Regions from separate parts of the Homo sapiens genome. Here region 2 is linked to region 1. Evidence: promoter capture Hi-C in human tissues and cell types (Jung and others, 2019). All regions are on one chromosome and are shown on one strand. Each heading gives the region's core, a stretch centred on a gene start or on the middle of the fragment in contact. The rest is flanking DNA. Distances are from core to core; before and after follow the strand shown.

Evidence for each region. Contacts are between HindIII fragments. The study calls those that stand out against the background at their distance.
Region 2: a contact is called between a fragment that was not itself captured here and the fragment with the promoter of RIT2 in region 1, in 2 of the 25 tissues and cell types used here (adrenal gland and pancreas).

The regions. Positions count from the first base shown.
Region 1 is chr18:43,113,965-43,117,528 of GRCh38, reverse strand. It overlaps RIT2 (Ras like without CAAX 2), which reads left to right and starts at 1,844. Exons shown (of 5, transcript NM_002930.4): 1 at 1,844-2,112. The coding sequence starts at 2,010. The HindIII fragment of the contact is 9,119 bases long and covers 1-3,564 here.
Region 2 is chr18:43,172,490-43,176,053 of GRCh38, reverse strand. No RefSeq gene overlaps it. Among named protein-coding and RNA genes, the nearest start is that of RIT2, 59 kb to the right of the region's middle. The HindIII fragment of the contact is 4,069 bases long and covers 1-3,564 here.

The sequences.
Region 1 (3,564 bases), core at 595-3,094:
GCAGCTCAAAGAAAAAACTGGGTCCAGAATTACAAACTTGGCAGTTACCTATAGAAAGATGATAAGTGGACCTATGACATTGACTGAATTCACAATCAAAGAGTAAAAAAGATAGAAAAGTGGGAATGGAATAATTGGGCAAAGTTTCATTTACAACCTGATGGATGATCTGTAAAAGAAAGAGATTACAAATTGGACCCCATCAAAATTTAAAACTGCTGATCTTTGAAAGCTACTGTTAAGAAAAACCACACACTAGAGGAAAATATTTGCAGAATATTTATATGATAAAAGACTTACATCCGAAATATATAAAGAATTCTCAAAGTGCAATAAGGAAATAAACACCTTGGTATAAAAATAAGCAAAAGACTTGAACAGATACTTTGGCAAAGAAGATATACAGATGGCCAATAAACACATGAAAAGATAATCTTCTCTTCTTGGGCGAGTGTTTGTAAACAGTAGACTGACAGCAGCACAGATTCAAAATAATAACATACTCTTCATATCATATACCTGTGTGGTACTTATCACTTGTCAGACACAGTTTTAAGCACTATATAAATATTAGCTCACTTAATGAGTTAACAAAGTAGGGTTTTAATTAACTATTCAGTGATAAAGAAATTGAGGCACAGAGAGGTGAAGGAATTTGCCTAAGGTCATATAGCTGGTAAGTGGCTAAGCCCAGATTTGAACACAGGCATTCTGGCTTCAGAGACTGTGCTCTTGGCTATAACAATTTGAAGCCTCTACAGAAACCAGCAAGTATATATTGAGTGCCTACTCAGTGCACATATTATAGAATCACAAGAAATGGACTAAATATAGTTCTTTTCCTAGTGGAGCTTAAAATCTAGATAGAAAGACAAGTCTAGTCTATGCACACCAAACACTTGTCTGCATCTGATAATGATTCAAGCTTTAGAAAATAGACAATAAACATGTTAAACATCATCATGTTGATTAAAAGACAGGATCTTATTATGACAATTAGGAATTATTGAAAACATTCTTGACCCTCTGTAGTTTAGAAGTTCTTTAGAGAAAAACAAAGACCGCAAAGCTTTATAAGAATTCAAACAGGTAATAATAGTTTGGACATTTAAAAATATTCTTCTACAATCTTTTATGCTAGTATAATTGTCAGTAAAAATATTTATCAATTATCTCTTTCATGCTTGATAGTCCTTGTGATTTAAGTTGTTTCTAATAACTTAACGTAAACAAGCATGAGCCTTGTCCAAATATGACAATGATCTAATTCAATTACCCCCCTATGTTAAACCTGCAACTGTCTAGTGAGCTGAACAATTCCTGTTAGCCGGCTGTTATTTCAATAACACTGAAGATCCATCCTTATGAGCCCTGAGTTACTGTTCTGTTTTGTTTTTGTTTTGCTTTTCCATTTTCCCGGAATGAAAACTGCAATAGAAGAGTGATAAAATGCAAGACTATAAGCAGAAGAAATCCTTATTAATTGACTTTGATTAAAAGAAAATAGCATCTTTGAAGCTGTACCTACAGAAGTCATCCTGTGAGACATAGCAACTCCTGTGAGGTCTCAGATTCACTCCATTCTAGCAGCGCAGCCTGAAAAGGGGTCGAATGTGTGTGTGCCACTGACAACTGTGACTGTGCAGGGGGTAGGCAGGAAAGAGAAAGGAGAGAAACAGACAGTGGGGAAGGGAAATGGAGAAAGAATCAAATGAGGGAGGAAATGAAAATGAGAGAGAGAGAGAGAGAGAGATTGTAGGAGACGTGAAAGAGTGAAGGATCGGAAGGAAGGGTGGGGGATGCAAAAGCCAGATTTTTATTGGAAGCAATTGAAGTGGTTGCTATGAGACCCGCTCGAGCGGAGGACCAGCAGCCAGCCCGACGCTGATGGTTCTTACCTCGTACTAAAACCTTTGCTTTGACACAGTTTTAGAGTTGCTTAATATTCGAGCAAGCACCTGACACGGGTGACTTTCTCCTTCTTTTTTTCCTCCGGTCCCTCGGGTAAGATGGAGGTAGAAAATGAAGCCAGCTGCTCCCCGGGCAGCGCATCAGGCGGGTCCAGAGAGTACAAGGTGGTAATGCTGGGAGCAGGGGGAGTTGGTAAAAGCGGTAAGTTTTCACACCAAATGCTGGGGAAGGAGGGACCTCTATAGAGACAACTCTATAGAGTGAAAGAAAAATGATATTGCTGATGCTGTTAGAGGTGAACTGTGGCAGTTAAACACAGAGTATGGGTCTGGCAGGATGCTCCAAAGTGTCAGGACTGTTAAACCGATGCTGATGAGTCAGGATAATGCAGACAGCCAGTGATGATCCTCAGAACCTTAAGAGGATGATTGTTTTCTTTGATTTCATGCTGGGTGATATTTGCTCTTAGTGTATAGGTCTTTTTTAATAATAAAAATAAGTATGAAATTGTCATGGTATGAGAAAAATGTGCTCCTAGTCTCAAAAATCTTCACATAAAGAAAGAAGTGCTATGAATATTCAATTAAACACAGTTACAAACACAGACATATACTCGGGATGATGGGTGTTGATTGTTGTGTTTGTTTCTTTCATTAGGAGGTTCTTTTTCCTCATCTGTAGTCTGACATGGTGTGTGTGGGCTTTGAATACCAAAAGAAAGTTGGTTTTTGAAAGTGGCAGTGATTTATGGAATGATATTCATTGTGAGTCCTGTGCAGGGTGATCAAACTAAACTTTGTGGTCAATTAAAGGAGAAAGCTACACAAATAAATGAAGATGAGGTGATAATAGAGATGAAGAATAGCAAATTTCTTTTGGTACATAAAGAACGGAAGTGTCAGTTGTTGGGATTCTTGAGGAGCCTAAAAGGCCAAATATAAAAAAATTAAAAAAATAGATACATAGTAGTTTTTTGGCTGATCAAATGTTAGATAGCTCGGAGCTATGGCTATCACTAGAAAATAAATAAATATAGCTTTTTATATAAATATTAAATATCTCCACTGGGAATATATCTTTGGGAATTCTAAAAGGTAGAAAAAATATTATAGTTAGCATGGACAAAAAGCATCAAAACAAATCAGTAGTTTTAGTGTTGACAAAAAAATTAAAAGACGAAGACAATATTTTCGGCAGAAGAAACCAAAAAACTAACAACTTTGGTGGATGGGTCCACAAGGGATAGGAAAACTGAACAGTAAAGGAAGAGGAAGGAGATTGTGACTTTAGTGGACAACAAAGTTAAAGATAGTAAGAAACATAAAATTCAGCACCCCTACCTCTTCTCCTCACCCTACAAAAGAGAATTCTCATAAAAAATAAAAGAAATAGGTACATCTGGATGTGGTCAGTAGCAAAATGCATATCAAAGTGAAAAAAATTATTCATCTCTTCTAGGGAGGCAAAAATATGAAAGAAAAGCTTTGTAATTGTGTATAAATGAGGAATTTTTAAAAAGCTTTCTCCTCTAAATATAATGATTTGAGAAGGAAGGAATCAAAATAGGTTAGGATTTAAGGAAGGAGGAAGGGATGGAGGAAGGATAGAGACAACATGATCTATATAAAATGAAGTTATACTTTACAAGAATCC
Region 2 (3,564 bases), core at 455-2,954, 59 kb before region 1:
TCACAAGGACACAGGAAGGGGAACATCACACTCTGGGGACTGTTGTGGGGTGGGGGGAGGGGGGAGGGATAGCATTGGGAGATATACCTAATGCTAGATGACGAGTTAGTGGGTGCATCACACCAGCATGGCACATGTATACGTATGTAACTAACCTGCACAATGTGCACATGTACCCTAAAACTTAAAGCATAATAATAAAAATAAATAAATAAATAAATAAATTTCAAAAAAAAAACATTTATAGATATTCCAGAATCACTGAACTTAACTTGATATTTAAATTATTTTGAATATATTTTAAGACAAGGAGAAAAATATGAATTAAATAAAAGAAATCTCTCCTCAGCATTTTGAGAGAAGTAAAATAATGAAATATAATATTCTTAAGACACAGTACAGACTGTAAAATATAGTCTCAGATGATAAACCAGTGTAGGGGTTAATAGCTTGGACCCATTATTAACTTATAAAAATATTTATAGCACTAAATTGTAAACATCATGGGGTCAAATAATCTGTCTGCCTTGTTCGCTGTGTCTCAACAGTGCTCATATATTTCCTTGACATAGAACGTACTCATCAGGTGTTTTTGAATGACTCAGGGCTTATGACATAATACTCTGTGCTGGAAATCCAAAGTGAGTCCTAACATTATGCAGCTGGAAAGGCAAAAATGTAGTTATATGGCCTGGATATAAATTATCATGCCAACTTTAATAATAATACTGTTAATTTTAACATCCTTAATAGCTGTCTGAATATTAATTTCCTACTGATTTTCATCCAGTGTTGTACTATACCTGAAATTCAATCAAAGGGAAGGTTAAGATTCTTACAGACAAAAATAGATTGTGAATGATACCCAGGGAGTTTAAGCCATTCAGTAAGAGTCAAAATAATTATTACAGTGAAGAACATCTTCTGACTCCCTGTACATCATGCCAGCTGTGCCCAGGGAAAGCCCATTTTGTTCTTTCTTTCAGATCATCCAGATTGTTACTTGTTTGAGTTGCAAACTGATTGATTAAAGGGATTGTCCATGACTAGCTATCTGGATTTAGGAACAAGGAGTTGGGGCAAGGTGTTTATATAGATTGTCAGACAAGCTGTTCAAACAGAGAAAAAGCTGCAGTACAAAAAAAAAATTGTCAAAATGTCATTTTACGGCACTTCTTTTTAGTAAGCTGTTTTGTTTGTTAATTTGATCAATATCTTTTGAGTATATCAAGCTTAAAAGACATAATTGAAAACAAATTTGTTCAGTATGTGTTCCCTGCTTTCAAGGAGTTTCCAGTTTATTGCTAAGCTAGAAAATATTGATACAAATCTAGTGTCATGTGAATGATCCGATAAAGAATTACAGGGTAGAAGACAGAGTCACATGGTTATGTGGATGCATTTAGGGACAATATGATAAAGAGAACACAGATATTTGTTTAGAGATAGGTTTGATTAGATGGCCCCAAAGAATGATGAATATGGCATGCTCAATGTAAAAAAGGCAAGGCACAGTTTAGGTCAACGAGGTATCCAGAGAGATGGCATTTGTGTTTCATATAATAAGCTACTGGAAAGAAGAATGGAAGTGTTGTCATAATGTGGAAAGACTCTGCTTTCCAGATGCTGGCTCACTTATGAATTCTAATAGGTTGACTGTAGATCATTTTGGATATTCTTGGTGCACTCAAATGTTTTCTGCTAATAGTGACAGTTTTATTTCTTTTTTTTGCAATTCTTAAAAAATTTATTTTTATTTTTATTTTTATTTTTTGGCTAGTGTACTGACTAGGATCACCAACATAAGGCTGAAAAAAAGTGGAGATTGCAGACATACATTCTCTTATGAAAACAGGCATTCTTGTCTTATTTCCAATGCTAGAAACAACATTATTAATATTTCATGATTATGAATATTTGTTGTTTTAGATATTTCTGATATTAGAGAAATTACCCTGCATTTCTTGTTTTCAAAGCACTTTTATTATAAATTAGTGTTGAATTTTAAGAGAAGTTTGTTCTGAATCTATGGAGATAAGCCTATGATTATTCTTTTTCATGTTATTTATATTAACTTTTCATCCTTGAAATTCAGGAATATATTTTTCTTAATTTTAATATTGTCTACATTTTTCAATCTTTTGTTCATGTGTACTTACTTATATCCTGTTTAAAAATCTTTTGCGAAGCTCACGTTGTTATTTTCGTGTATTACTCTTTAGAAGTTGTATTATTTTACTGTAAGATTATATATATAGTCTACATGAGATTAATTATGGTTTACAATGTGAAGGTGGCTCAAGATTTATTTTTTGCTATATGGACATTCAATTGACCTAATGCCATTTACTGAAAAGATCGTCTTTCCTCCACTACTCAGCAGTATCACCTTTTTTGTAAATCTTATTTTCATATGTGTGTGGGCCTATTTTGTTCCCCTTGTATGTTGATTAATTAATGTTTTTATTATTATTTCATTGATCATTCTTGATAGTATACTAAATTCTTTTAATATTTTTCTTCACTAACACCGATTATGTTTTCTTGGTCTTTTTTGTTTTCTTACAGATTTTAGAATTAGTGTTACTGACAGCAAATTCATAGGGGTCTGCAGCAACCTCAATTTTTGCCCCCTCAGAAGAAAAAATTTGACCGAGGAGGAGAGACCGAGGCAAGTTTTAGAACGGGAGTGAAAGCTTACTGAGGAGTTTTAGGGTAAGAATGAAAGGAAGTAAAGTACATGTGGAAGAGGGCCAAGCGGGCGACTTGAGAAATCAAGTGTGCAGTTTGACCTGTTGACTTGAAGTTTTATACTTCCAGCGTCTTGTGTCCCTTCTCCCCTGATTCTTCCTTCAGGGTAGGCTGTCCACATGCTCAGTGGCCTGCTAGTGCTTGGGAGGGAAGCATGCAGAGTGTGTTTACTGGAGCTGTCCGTATGTTCCCTTGAGGCATTTTTCCCTTACCAGTCAAATGTTTCTAGCAGGTCATATACCAGTTAAACTCTTAATGCACATGCTTGAGCCCAGTCACCCAACTCCTGAGCTCATATTAGGAAGCTACTGATCACCAGGAAGCTGCTGATCACCAGGAAGCTGCTGATACCAAAGGACACTGCCTTTCCCTGGCTGTGACCAATCATTATTTTAGTGAGACAGTTAACAACTTCCTGAGCATCACCTGATGGTCACCTGACATTACTGGTGTGGGTGAGGGGAACCCTCTCCTGCCTGCCTTATGTCTATCTACCTACTGTAACATTAGCTTGTAAATACCTGCAAGAAATTTCTGCAGGAATGTTCATCAAGACTGCAATTAATGGCCAGGCGCGGTGGCTCAAGCCTGTAATCCCAGCACTTTGGGAGGCCGAGGCGGGTGAATGATGAGGTCAGGAGATCGAGACCATCCTGGCTAACACGTGAAACCCTGTCTCTACTAAAAATACAAAAAATTAGCTGGGTGTGGTGGTGGGCACCTGTAGTCCCAGCTACTCGGGAGGCTGAGGCAGGAAAGTGGCGTGAACCCGGGAGGCAGAGCTTGCAGTGAGCCAAGACCACGCCACTGCCC